Linked DNA regions of Homo sapiens: regions 1, 2, 3 and 4 are each linked to region 5. The links are contacts of gene promoters, found by promoter capture Hi-C in blood cells and fetal thymus (Javierre and others, 2016). All regions are on one chromosome and are shown on one strand. The core of a region is centred on a gene start or on the middle of the fragment in contact, and the rest is flanking DNA. Distances in the headings are between cores, read along the strand shown. Region 1 overlaps TRAPPC13 (trafficking protein particle complex subunit 13). Region 2 overlaps PPWD1 (peptidylprolyl isomerase domain and WD repeat containing 1). Region 3 overlaps TRIM23 (tripartite motif containing 23). Region 4 overlaps CENPK (centromere protein K). Region 5 holds the start of DIMT1 (DIM1 rRNA methyltransferase and ribosome maturation factor).

Evidence for each region. The method cuts DNA at HindIII sites, captures the fragments that hold promoters and counts their contacts. A CHiCAGO score of 5 or more calls a contact.
Region 1: a contact is called between a fragment that was not itself captured here and the fragment with the promoter of DIMT1 in region 5, in 7 of 17 cell types (total CD4 T cells, naive CD4 T cells, naive CD8 T cells and 4 more). The highest score is 13.0, in total CD4 T cells.
Region 2: a contact is called between a fragment that was not itself captured here and the fragment with the promoter of DIMT1 in region 5, in 2 of 17 cell types (naive CD8 T cells and naive CD4 T cells). The highest score is 8.5, in naive CD8 T cells.
Region 3: a fragment that was not itself captured here is called in contact with the fragment with the promoter of DIMT1 in region 5 in 2 of 17 cell types (naive CD8 T cells and total B cells); the score reaches 8.6 in naive CD8 T cells.
Region 4: a contact is called between a fragment that was not itself captured here and the fragment with the promoter of DIMT1 in region 5, in 1 of 17 cell types (naive CD8 T cells). The highest score is 5.2, in naive CD8 T cells.

The regions. Positions count from the first base shown.
Region 1 is chr5:65,629,384-65,632,083 of GRCh38, reverse strand. The region is part of intron 1 of TRAPPC13 (trafficking protein particle complex subunit 13); the gene reads right to left. It overlaps SHLD3 (shieldin complex subunit 3), which reads right to left. Exons shown (of 2, transcript NM_001365341.2): 2 at 1,156-2,616. The coding sequence starts at 2,496. The coding sequence ends at 1,744. Among named protein-coding and RNA genes, the nearest start is that of TRAPPC13, 5.7 kb to the right of the region's middle. The HindIII fragment of the contact is 2,093 bases long and covers 262-2,354 here.
Region 2 is chr5:65,584,670-65,587,369 of GRCh38, reverse strand. PPWD1 (peptidylprolyl isomerase domain and WD repeat containing 1) reads right to left here. Exons shown (of 11, transcript NM_015342.4): 9 at 2,275-2,356; 10 at 1,189-1,371; 11 at 1-117. Among named protein-coding and RNA genes, the nearest start is that of PPWD1, 23 kb to the right of the region's middle. The HindIII fragment of the contact is 3,088 bases long and covers 1-2,700 here.
Region 3 is chr5:65,609,253-65,611,952 of GRCh38, reverse strand. It overlaps TRIM23 (tripartite motif containing 23), which reads left to right. Exons shown (of 11, transcript NM_001656.4): 4 at 72-350; 5 at 910-1,092; 6 at 2,495-2,700. Among named protein-coding and RNA genes, the nearest start is that of TRIM23, 14 kb to the left of the region's middle. The HindIII fragment of the contact is 3,505 bases long and covers 1-2,700 here.
Region 4 is chr5:65,541,841-65,544,540 of GRCh38, reverse strand. It overlaps CENPK (centromere protein K), which reads left to right. Exons shown (of 11, transcript NM_022145.5): 6 at 1,693-1,739. Among named protein-coding and RNA genes, the nearest start is that of CENPK, 20 kb to the left of the region's middle. The HindIII fragment of the contact is 5,104 bases long and covers 1-2,700 here.
Region 5 is chr5:62,402,640-62,405,339 of GRCh38, reverse strand. It overlaps DIMT1 (DIM1 rRNA methyltransferase and ribosome maturation factor), which reads left to right and starts at 1,435. Exons shown (of 12, transcript NM_014473.4): 1 at 1,435-1,646; 2 at 1,994-2,067. The coding sequence starts at 1,568. RefSeq lists an enhancer at 1,225-1,514. The HindIII fragment of the contact is 1,140 bases long and covers 1,096-2,235 here.

The sequences.
Region 1 (2,700 bases), core at 59-2,558, 3.2 Mb before region 5:
TGTAGAGACGGAGTTTCACCATGTTGCCCAGGCTGGTAAGTTCACTTTTAGTACCAGTTGGTGTTTTCTATTTCTTCCCTATTATTTTTTTCATTTCATTAGAAAACAAATCTGAATAAAGAGAAAATACAGTCTCAAGGGAATCCTGAAACATTCCTTTTTTTTTTTTCTTAGTGTCCTGGAGTTCACCCAAACATGTAGCTAACATATTTGCTTATTATAGGTTCCAATTTCTATTATAAAGAAAAGTCCTATAAAGCTTAGTTTTTCATGATTCCTGTGGTTTAGCAGGGGATGAGATGGTGGGTAAAAAATGATCCTCCATTAAAAATAAAGTGATCCCAACTTGGTATTAAAAGCAACTTTTTTCTTCATATTTTCAGATTATGGCCTTTGCAGCAACGTAGATGCAACTGGAGGCCATTATCCTAAGCCAATTTATGCAGGAACAGAAAATCAAATACCACATATTCTCATAAGTGAGAGATAAACAATGAGTATACATGGACACAAAAAACAGAACAATAGACACTGAGGCCTATTTGAGGGTAGAAGGTGGCAGGGGGTGAGGACTAAAAAACTACCTATTGGGTATTATCCTGATTACATGGGTGACAAAACTATTTGTACACCAAACCCCTGTGGCACACAATTTACCCATATCACAAATCTGCACATGTACCCCTTGAACCTAAAATAAAAGTTAGAAAGAAAAAAAAATTAGTGGGCTTCCATTTTAAGCAACCTCAGCCATCTCAGGCTATGAAGAATCCCTCTGAAGGGAATGTTTACCATGCATTATCAAGCTCCTACCATGACAGGCACTGAGCTTCAAGGTAAACATGTCTATATTCCTAGTTAAGTGCAGTCTTATTTTTCTTAGGGAGCTGGTGTGTTTAATAGTAGTAATGACATGTAAGCTGTGTGAGGGCAAGGTCCATGTCTGTCTCCTTCCCTAGTATATCCTAGCACCTAGTGCAAAGTAGGCATTTAAATATGTTAAACAAACATACATGCTTCTACAAAACTTTTACTGTTTTAATCCCTTTGAGCATTTTTATGAGGTGATGTGTAAAACCAATTACAAGATTATGCTTATGGGGAACCTACAATGACTCCAATCATCAGCCAAGTAATAATTAGCACTAACTATCATTAATACTGAATTATCTGTATTAGAAGAAATAAACAATCATTCAACATTTGATACTTTCCTTCAAAACAGGATACATTATCGTTTTAGGCAAAGTATACATTTTGTATCGTTGTTTGAAAACAGCCTATCAATTGTTATTACATATCTTTGGAAACATCATTATAAATCTAGACTAGTCTCCCACTTTGAACTACATTCATGCCACATAAATAGCACTCCAAAGAGAATTGTTTCGAGTTTTATTTTTTAAAAAATTACACTTGAGGTAAGGAAAAAAATACAGTAAAATTAGATTTTAGAGATTAACCAAAATCCAAACTATACAACTTAATTCATGACTAATTCAATCACAGTTTGTAACAAAAGGAACAGAACATTTTTACCTTCAAATTCAGTGTAAACAATAATTTATCACATTTAAAAGAAGGCTGCCAATAAGCAGAACTCAGCAATTTCTTGACTTAATTGACAAGCCTAGGAATTCTAAAAAGTCATTAAAAATTTTAAAACCTGTAAAAATTATTTTATCTATTTCAATCCATATTCATTTCATTCAGAATATTCTTTTTGACAATCAGTGGAATTCATTACATACTAAAAATAACACCATATTTATGCACAAATAAATTAATTTTTCCAGTAAGAGCTAATCTTCCTTTAAGAAGACTTCCCACATATTCACAATACATAATATCACAGAACACCCATATTTGGCCTAAATGCCTCTGAATTGTAGCATTACAAGATGGAAGTTCATTGTGCCTAATAATTTGATTGAGTTTTGTCCAAATGTCTTCCAGAGTTTGGCTGTTACAAATAGTGTGTTCTATTGTCCATCTTGCTCTATAAAGTGAGTGTAAATTTAGTGCCTTTAAACTATCTTGCAATTTTTTAGACAAAGGAGAAACGTTTTTAGTACAATTATTGCTGGGAAGGGAAATACTCCAAGATCTCCTCTTGTGCTGTTTTCCCTTTTCTGATTGTTTACCCAGATTTCCAGAATTAGTCTGTTCCTTCAGTGTGTGTGACCAGGTTAAATGCTGCTTTTTCAAGCTAGGTTGAAACTCCAATAGATCTACTGTGCAATCATAACTGTGTGACTTAGCATCATGTTCTGAAATGGTTAAGTACTGTTTCACATCTTCAGCTGCCTCTTCAGAAATCACAGGTGGTGATCTTTTAGGTCTGAGTGGAAGCTTGGACCCATCATATGGAAACCAAGGTATAAATCTTGATAGCGGACGAGTAGGAAAGTCTTGAATTGCTTTTTCTGCAATTTTTGGCAGTTGTGTGGGATCACTCTCACATGGTCGATAATGTAATATTACTTCTGTAGTCATTCTGCAGTAATCCAGTTACTCTTAGTGATGAGAAAATTTCTTAGTTGAACTCCTCAGAGCTAGAATGTTAATTTATTATTGCAAGATTGTCTCTCTTGCCAAATCAGAGGGAAACAGGACCTAAAGTAGAAGTATTGCAAAGAATAAGATATGGTAGGGATACCCTGCCTACCAACAGGCAGGGAGAAAAGGAAAAACAAAAAA
Region 2 (2,700 bases), core at 201-2,700, 3.2 Mb before region 5:
GACATCCTCATAGGGCTTATCTGTTTTGGGATTGACTTTGACGTTGGAGATCCTCTGTACAACTTCCATTCCTTTAGTCACTCGTCCAAATACTGTATGCTTATTATCAAGCCAAGGCTGTGTTGGAGGACAAATGGAAAATCTTGGTAAACCCCAATTTCTTTAAATTATATCCTCTGGTTGAGCAAATTAAAGAGAATTTAAGTTTACGCTCCCCTTTAGCATATATTTAAAAAGAAGTACAATAATTTCTCAGCAATAAAAATGTAGCAGCTTTTAAAAGTTATTTCCAGTGTGTTAAAAAAAATAGAAGCATAGTATAATGTTTAATTAAATATCTGCATCTTTCAGACCAAAGGGAACTGGAAGATCTTCCCTAAAGGTAAGTTACTTCACATGGCTTACAGAATTGTGGCTAAGGCTTTAAAAGGTCTCTGGAGGACTCTTACCTGAACAGTTTATTCAGAGGCAGTTTGAAATAGTTTATGCAGCACATACTTTGGCATTAGACAGGTGGGAGTTCAAATGCTAGCTTGGCTACTTGACCTTTTGGCAAGTTAATCATGTCTCACTGTTTCTTCATCTATTATTGAAAACTGGGGATACTGATAGTAGAAGTACTGTGAATACTACATAAAACTATGTGCCTGGCAGATGGTAGTTACATTTTTCCCTTCTTCATCACTTAGTGCTTAATTCCAAAACAAAAACTAGGTAATTTTTATAATTTTGTGTTATGGCATAGCAATAGAGCTAGGTTACCTTATACTGTATTTCATCAAATCTAATGTATTCTGATTTCAGAGATACTAAAATGTGGGGGAAATTGTCTCAAAATTGTGAATTCATATACTCTAATCTTTGTATTCTAAAGACAAGGAAATAGGCTCACAGAAGTGAAATAATTTATTTTAGGTTACATCATCAGTAGAGGCAGAGTTGAGATTGAAACTCAAGTATCTTGAATCGTAGTCCATTGTATTTCTTACTACAGTGGCAGTATTGTTTTACCAATTCTAAACTGATTAGTCACATAATTTTATATTCTTGATCATTTTCATATTTGTATTCTGCTAGATGATATAAATAATGCAGAAAATACAGAATAATGCAGCTCTTCTACTGAGTTCACTCTCTTACATCATAACCTATCAATCTGTAGTTTATAAACAATGATACTGTACTTACCGTTGGTACTACCGTTATGAAAAACTGGGATCCATTAGTATTTGATCCCGCGTTAGCCATGCTGAGTGTGTATGGCCTGTCATGTCGTAATGTTGAATGAAATTCATCTTCAAATTCTCCTCCCCATATGCTTTCTCCTCCCATACCAGTACCTGTTGGATCTCCAGTCTGAATCATAAAGCCCTTAACAGAAAGTACACAAAAACATTACATTGTCCTTTTCGATATATGTACGCTTTGAAGTTTTATTTCTGCCAAGAGTGCTTTGTATTCAGTGTAATATTAACTGTCACTATAAAGTGATTTGATTAAACCCTTAACACTTAAATTTGGATGATGTATTTCCATTGCCCAACCACCACCTTGATTGAAACATAAATGCAAAGGTCGTCTTCTCATTTATAGACATGTTCTGTCTTTCTCAATAACCCAAATAAAGCCAGTTAATACTATCAATTTTAGGATCTGTATGTTATGTTTTATATAATTGCCCTCCTCTTCTCCCTCTCCCTTTCCCCAAATACTCTGGATTTCCTGGAAAGCCTTTTCGCTAATTCCTTTAGGACCCTGAGATCTGACTTTTCATCCTGCCGTTTCTGACCTGCCAGAAACCAAGCACTGTATCAGTGCCCCATCCACTTTATGGAAAGCTGCTCAACAAAATCCAGGGGCTGAGTTCTCTCTCCTCCTCTGGTATATTACAGGTTCTCACAGATCAGATGGCACTGTGGCTCCTCTATGATTGAAAAATCATATCTTCTAGATCTAGACCCTATCTAGCCACGACAAAGAGGTTACCTAGGTTACTGATGTAATCTCAGCATGACCCTTTATTCATTATCTTACCCTTTACTTTAGCTGCTGACAAAATATTGCTTCAGTGTTTCTAATCATGCCACTATTCCTGTTGATTCTAGATGTTGATATTTATGACCATCCACTCCTCCTTTGGCTTCCATAGTGTATTTTTCCTGTTCCTTTCCACTAAACTGATTAAGTGTGAGAGAAGAAGATTCCTTGCGCTTAAATCTCTTGCTATGTAATAATACAGTATTTCTTATATGACATGAAATTTATGTAACTTACCTTAATTATACGGTGAAATGTATGCCCATTATAATAACCATTTCTGCTGTGAACACAGAAGTTTTCCACTGTCTTAGGGCACCTATTAAGACATATGTTACAAATATGAAACCTATTCAGAGCATCTTAAAACAGTTTTCTTTGCAGTTCTGCTTCCTAATGATGTTTCCTTTCCATGTCTTCTGAATGTTTCAGAAGGACAGTTGTTTTTTTTTTTCATAATCTCTAATCTCAGGACAAGCACGGAGGGTCATGTAAGTAGTATATTCTTATTGTTCAACTTAGTTATCTTTAGAACATGACTGCTTAACTAATATTTGAGTTTGACAGTATTAAAATTTCAAGGTCATTTAGCAGTCAAAAAAAATACAGCCATAGCACCTTAAAAATATGTTTTTTTCTTAAGAGACAAGGTCTCACTATATT
Region 3 (2,700 bases), core at 99-2,598, 3.2 Mb before region 5:
TCTATATTTAAAAATTCGTCATGTTATACTGATTGGGTTCAATTTTAAGGCATTAATTTTTTGTTTATCAGAGCATCATTCGTTGTGATGAAGATGAAGCTCACCTTGCCTCTGTATATTGCACTGTGTGTGCAACTCATTTGTGCTCTGAGTGTTCTCAAGTTACTCATTCTACAAAGACATTAGCAAAGCACAGGCGAGTTCCTCTAGCTGATAAACCTCATGAGAAAACTATGTGCTCTCAGCACCAGGTGCATGCCATTGAGTTTGTTTGCTTGGAAGAAGGTTGTCAAACTAGCCCACTCATGTGCTGTGTCTGCAAAGAATATGGAAAACACCAGGGTCACAAGGTATGAATTTAATTATTAATCAGTTGGATCACTGTAGCTACTTTACCAGCTCAGTATTCGTTTTCACTGACCTGGTTCTTTATTCTGAAAGTAGGGATTGAAGAAGAGTTAAGTGATGAGTGATTGGGTTTGGTAGCATGAAAATAAATGAGAGATTTAATTTCTGAATGTTATAAAAAAAAAAAAACTTCAAAGAGGCATCATGATTCTTCACAAAAAAATAGCTTTCGAGCAGGAAACAAACATTCTGTTTGCTTGCATGTTTTCATAATGCACCAGATTGTTTTGACAATATTTATGTCTGTTAGCTCTTACTTAGGATATGATTTTAGAGATAGTCTCTTGGTTTTTTGTTTAGCAATAAACGGACTTCCAAATTTTAAATTACTTCTTTGCAGTACAGTTTTCTTATAAAGGAGTGAAAGTAAATTAGTATTTTTCTGTGTCATAAAAGTCACTTGTGGCTGATGCTTTTTTGTATTAATAGGGATTTAAATAGTTTTTTATATTATTAGTCAATACTATGAGTTCTTTTCTCTAATTATGGTACATTTTATAGCATTCAGTATTGGAACCAGAAGCTAATCAGATCCGAGCATCAATTTTAGATATGGCTCACTGCATACGGACCTTCACAGAGGAAATCTCAGATTATTCCAGAAAATTAGTTGGAATTGTGCAGCACATTGAAGGAGGAGAACAAATCGTGGAAGATGGAATTGGAATGGCTCACACAGAACATGTATGGATTTTTTTTCTTCTTCACTTTCTCATTCTTTTTTATTTTTCATATTTTCACCTTCTACTAAGTAATTAATGGGCAATTACAATTTGCCAGTATTGCACCAATCATTAGAAAGTTTTTTAAAAGTCCCTGTCTTTCAGGAACTCATTCATCATGGAAAAGAGAGAGTTTGAAATATGGTAACTATTTTATGGAGGAGAAGTACAGGGTGCTTTGGCATCACAAAACAGGGACAATGATTTATGGAGGTCAGAGAAGTCCTTATAGAAGAAATGGTGTTTAAACTGAGATTTGAAGAATTTCAGTCAGGGAAAAGAGCAGAACGGGGAATGAGTTGTCCCAAGAAGGGAACAATATGTTAAAATGTTTGTAAGTGAGGATTGTACATATTGTAGAGACTTAAAGAAGCTCACTGTAGTTAGAGCTTTAAGTATTGAATGGGACATGACAAGAAAAGAGGATATGGAGAGTTCAAAGCCAAATCATGCAGGATCTTGTCAGCCATGTTAAAGAGTTCAGAACTTAGTTTAAGGACAGTGATGAGCCATTGAAGAATTGACTTAGGAATGATATAATCAGATTTTCCTCAAGAAAGGTTGTTTTAAATGTAGAAAATGAATTGGAGGAGCAACAAAATTGGAAGCAGGCAGACCTATTAGGATGTTGTTAAAGTTTTCTAGTTAAAATACTAGAGATGTTTATGGCCTATAATACACTAGGGTAGTGAGAGTGGACACAAGTCAATGGATTTGAGATTTTAAATAAGTAGAATAGATAGGTCTTAGTGATTAATTGTTAATATTGATTGGATAGGTAACTTAGAGGTGATGAGGCATGATCAGATTTTGGGTGTATTTTGAAGTCAGCAGAATTTGCTGAGGGACTAGTGGGCTATGAAAGAGAGCTGATAATGATGACTCCGGTTGTTTTTGCTTCAACATCCTGAAGGATGGAGTTGCCATTTACCAAGACAGAGGCAATTAGGTTTGGGAATAGGGGAGACTGGAGATTAGGCATTCCATTTTGCTTGAGATGTCATTTATAAACAGTTGAATTTCCAATGTCTGTGCATTAGGGGAAAGATCTAGCATGGAGATTTATATTTTGGAATTTAATATAGATGGTATTTAAACAATGTCTCGCTCGGTCACCCAGGCTGGCATGCAGTGTTGTGATCACCACTCACTGCAGCCTTGACTTCTGGGGCTCAATCAATCCTCCCGCCTCAGCCTCCTGAGTAGCTGGGACTACAGGCACATGCCACCACGGCTGGCTAATTTTTTCCATTTTTTGTAGAGACAGAGTTTTGCCATGTTGCCTAGGCTGAAATTTTAAATATTTCACAGGTAAAATCTTTATTAACATTACAGTTGCTTAAAATTTATTTTCATTTTCTTAGGTACCAGGGACTGCAGAGAATGCCCGGTCATGTATTCGAGCTTATTTTTATGATCTACATGAAACTCTGTGTCGTCAAGAAGAAATGGCTCTAAGTGTTGTTGATGCTCATGTTCGTGAAAAATTGATTTGGCTCAGGCAGCAACAAGAAGATATGACTATTTTGTTGTCAGAGGTTTCTGCAGCCTGCCTCCACTGTGAAAAGAC
Region 4 (2,700 bases), core at 97-2,596, 3.1 Mb before region 5:
TTGGATGTCTACCAGAAATAGTGGATCATATGATAGTTCTATTTTAAGTTTTTTGAGGAACCACCTATACTATTTTCCATAATGGTCACACCATATTTCAATCCCACCGACAGTGCACATGGTTTCAGTTTCTCAACATCCTTGTTAACACTTGTTACTTTCTGTTTTTTTGATAGTAGCTGTCTGCTGTGGCCTAAATATATCCCCCAAAATTCATGTTAAAACTTAATCACCATTATGATAGTGTTAAAAAGTGAGGTCTTTAGGATGTGATTAGTGAGCTTCTTATAGAGGTTGAAGGTAGTATCTAGTCTTTTTTTCCCCTTTTGCCTTCCACTATGTGAGGACACAGCAAGAAGACACCATCTTGGAAGCAGAGAGCAAACCCTTCCAAGGCACTGAATATTCTAATACAAACCTATCTATGAAGCACATGTAGAAAGTTCTTCCCTGTTAGAAGGCTTTCTAGAATAGCAGATACCTTTGAAAGTTTTCAGTAGCCTACTATTTGAGAAGTTTCAAATAGCTCTTCATTAGTAAAGGAAAATTTCTAGCATAAGGATTGAACGCATTAAAATTTGCTATACAAAATTACACATTTGTTTCTACTCATCAGGCTGGCAAAAATTTTAGAAGAGTTTGTAATATTTCTTGCTGTTTTTTCTTCATAGCTCATGGAAATGTCTTTAGAAAGGAAGCTGACATTCTCTATTCAGATTCAAAGTACACATTTCATTCTCTGAAATTTCATTTCTGAGAATCTGTTCTATAGAAATGAGAGCACCAGTACATAAAAACGTGTATAAAAGTCTGCTTACTGCATCCTTGTTTGTTATGACTAGAAACTAGACACAAAGTTAATCTAAAAGTGTTCAATCAAGAGGGCAATCACTCAGTATATTATGGTATATTCATTTTGGAATATCATGCAGCCATTAAAAGTTATGAATTAGACCTATATAGGTCTAGGTTTCCCTGGGGGTTTTATTGAGTGAAAGTAAGATGAATATAATATGTGTGATATGACCCCATTCTTGTAAAACCAATGATGATAAAAATAACCCTTTTAAGTGTATGTAAATGTATGTTACATATGTGTACATAGGATATATGACTACAGGGAAAGTATTTGAGGAACACACTATAGATTATTAGCTTCCCTTTTGAGGGTTTGAAGAACAAAAGAAGAAAAGAAAAAGGCACTAAACAGTACATAAATAGGATCAAATTTATCTAAAATTATATATAGTTGGCTATATGTGCAAAGATGTTAAAAATAAATAAAATGAAAACTGCACACATTTCGTAAAAAGTTGTGTATTGTCAAGGCAGGTGGATCACTTGAGGTCAGGAGTTCAAGACTGGCTTGGCCAACATGATGAAATCCCATCTCTACTAAAAACACAAAAATTAGCCAGGCATGTTGGTGGATGCCTGTAATCCCAGCTACTCAGGAGGCTGAAGCACGAGAATTGTTTGAACCAGGGAGGTGGAGGTTGCAGTGAGCCAAATAGCGCCATTGCACTGCAGCCTGGGTGACAAGAGGGAAACTCTGCCTTGGAGGGGAGAAAAAGTTGTATATTATATAAATGGAGATGGAAAGAAGTATCTTAGAAAACCGCAAAATTAAATTCTTGATTTTTGAGAATTAACTAAATATATGTGTAACTTTGTTTTGTTTTGTTTTTGTAGCAATTCCCTTGACTGAAGACGTTCTCATAACATTAGGAAAAGAAGAGGTAAGCCACTCAATGAATTTGTAGTGACCCCAAATAATTTCTAACTAGATCTATTTTAGATAAGTTCATGGCATAAGAAATAGGATAAAACCACTCTAAAACCATATTAAATTTTCTGCTTTTATTTATGTTTTATTGAACATAATATTTGATTTTTTTTTTTTGGAAACGGAGTCTCGCTCTGTTGCCCAGTCTGGAATGCAGTGGCACAATCCTGGCTCACTGTAACCTCTGCCTCCCAGGGTCAGGTGAGTCTCCTGCCTCAGCCTCCCGAGTAGCTAGGATTACAGGCATGCACCACCATGCCCGGCTAATTTTTGTATTTTTAGTAGAGACGGGATTTCAGTATGCTAGCCAGGCTGGTCTTGAACTCCTGACTTCGTGATCTGCCCGCCTCAGTCTCCCAAAGTGCTGGGATTACAGGCGTAAGCCACCACACCTGGCCTAAAGATTTGAATTTTGAACTCGGTTTTTGCATCAGAACTATTACTGAAGTTAGTGGTTATATGTAAACCTTAATCTCATATCTAGTTTTTAGTTAAACTTCACAATAAAAGCAAAATATTAAACATCGCTTAATGACCCCATACATACATCTCTCCTTCTGCTGTGGACTAAATATTTGTGTCTCCCAAAATCCATACGTTGAAATCTATTCCCCAGTGTGATGATATTAGGAGGTGAGACCTTTGGGAGGTGATTAGGTGCTGAGTGTAGGGCCTTCATAAATGAAATTAATGCCCTTATAAACGTCTGAAGAGACCAGTGTCCTCCCCTTCCATCTTGTGAGGACACAACTAGAAGGTACTGTCTGTGAAGAGGTGAGCCCTCAGTAGACATTGAATCTTGGACTTCCTAGCTGCCAGAATTGTGAGAAATAAATTTTTATAAGATCTCCAGTCTGTAGTATTTTGTTATAGGAGACTGAATGGACTATGACAGAAAGTTGGCACTGAGAAGT
Region 5 (2,700 bases), core at 186-2,685:
TTGATGAAATGAAACATATACTTGAAGATGCTACTAGGGTATACGAGATTTTTTTTCTGACTTAGAACTACATCAAAGAAAGAAGGGCCTAAGACCAAGGTTTGGGAATGTACACAATGAATTGCTCAAAAGAGAGTTAGCTTTAGTAATGACAGGAAGAAGCTATTTCTTCAACCAAACAGAATACACACAGAAAAATTTAAAAGAGCCATTACACTGGCTGGCAAAACAGATGTGGATATTATGGCCCTGGTACACACGGAGTTTATAGTCAGGTACACTGTCCTGTCACAACGACCAATACGTTATCGTATTTACAGCGTTTTGGAGTTTCTGTCCATCTCTGTCAATATAATACACTTTGAAATAAGTTTCTTACTTAGAATCCCTAGCAGTGTTTGATACACAGTTGGAGCTCAATAAATGTTTACGGAGTGAATGATGAGGCACAAAAGGAATTTGTTGAATTATTTGTTAAATGAATCAAATAATTTTCTAGGATTCACGGGCTGTCTTCTGCACGATAAGCTTCATTCTGTGGGTCTGAGTTTCTCCTGGTTCTCAATTCTGTCTTTTTGTGGATTATCTACTTTGTAGCTGGAGCTTTGTATCTGTTTAAGATAATTATTCTTCTATTCCTTTTTTTTTTTTTTTTTTTTTGAGACGGAGTCTCGCTCTGCCGCCCAGGCTGGAGTGCAGTAGCGCGATCTCGGCTCACTGCAACCTCCGCCTCCTGGGTTCACGCCACTCTCCTGCCTCAGTCTCCCAAGTAGCTGAGACTACAGGCGCCCACCACCACGCCCGGCTAATTTTTTGTATTTTTAGTAGAGACGGGGTTTCCCCGTGTTAGCCAGGATGGTCTCGATCTCCTGACCTTGTGATCCGCCCGCCTCTGCCTCCCAGAGTGCTGGGATTACAGGCGTGAGCCTCCGCGCCCGGCTCTTCTATTCTTAGTAGAAGCAACCAGTAGCCCTAGCGAAACCAGACGTTAATTCCATTCTCGCAGTTCTTTTCCCCAGGGCAAGCAGCAAAAAATGCATTCCCACAAAAGAGCAAGCTCATCCCCAAATCCCGGGTTTCCCACCCCCACAAGCTTCAGGAAAACAGGAGCGAGGCACGTGAATACTTCTTTGGACCTCAGCGATCCCAGAACCTAGGCTACTAAAACATCCATAGGCTTAACCTCATCATATAACTTAAACAGCCTTCGCAACACCGAGAGCACCACACCAACACCTTCTTATCCAGCCCTGGTTGGGACAAGGGCTCCAACTCCAGACTGCAGTCCTCGGTAGCGCGGTGTCTTCTGGGATCTGTAGGCTCCCGCGGTTCGGCCTTCCTCCCTCTGTGACTCCAATTCCCGGCAGTCAGTGGGCTCCAAGGTCCGCCCTTTTTCTGGAGGAGGAGCTCAGAGCGTACGGGAGGGGGCGGACCCTTGCCCCTCCGGCGCTTGGGCCAGAGTGGTGCGGGCGGCGCGTGGCGGCGATCCCCACGTGGTGGCTTTCTCACGCTAGCCCTCTTTGGTCCTCCTTGACGTCCCGGGCCTGTGGGCCCGCTTTCTGCCGAGATGCCGAAGGTCAAGTCGGGGGCCATCGGCCGCCGCCGCGGGCGGCAGGAGCAGCGCCGGGAGCTGAAGAGCGCTGGAGGTGCGGATCCCCGCGAGGAAGCTGGGGTCGGTCGGGTCAGGTCTTCCGGCAGGACCTAGCCTGGGGTGCGGACCAAGACCTGATCGGCAGAGGCCGGTCAGGACGCGCTCCCGTGAGCGCGGAAGGCAGGGGTGGGTCCCCGACTCGGCCGCAGGCCCTGCGCGTCGCCGCTGACTTCCTTTCCAGCTGGAGGATGAACTTATAAAGAGTTTGTCAGTCCTGGCGTGACGTTTCGTGGCCCTGGTTGGCGCAGAAATCTTCCCCATACCCATGCAGCTTTCTTCTCTGGTACTGCCTAATATCTAATCTCAGTAGGAAAATTAATGCTGTTTCGTATTTTCTTACAGGACTCATGTTCAACACGGGGATTGGGCAGCACATTTTGAAAAATCCTCTCATTATTAACAGCATTATCGATAAGGTGGGTGTGGAAGAGGAAAGGGAGAGAGTTGTTGGTTTATTAATTTTATTCCTATGAATACATAAGCGCAGAAAGTCTGCCTGCCGTAAATTAGATGCTCTGTAAATATTTGTTGAATGAATCAAATAATTGTCTAGGATTCTTGGGCTGTCTTCTGCATGATAAGCTTCATTTTGTGGGTCTGAGTTTCTCCTGGTTCCCAATTCTGTGTCTTTTTGTGGATTATCTACTTTATAGCTGGACCTTTGTATTTGTTCAAGATAATTATTCTTCTATTTCTAATCACCTTTTTGATCACTTAGTTTTTATGTACTCCATCTATTTATGTCTAAACTACACATTAGAAAGTTTGTTCCCCAGAAAAACATATAGTACTACATATAAATTATTTGGTGTATGCTAGTACCACATATAAATTGCTTGGAGTATTACTGCTTTCTGAGTTATTGATGTTCTCTTATGGTTATGGATGATTGGGTGTTAGGAAGTGAAATACACACGGTGCAGATTACACTTATGGTTAAAAGCAAGGAAAGCATCCTGGAGCTGTAGAAAGAGCATTACATAGTTAAAGGATCTTGTCAGGCTTCGTGTCATTTGAAAACTGAGAAAAAAAGAAAGAAGGGTCATGTA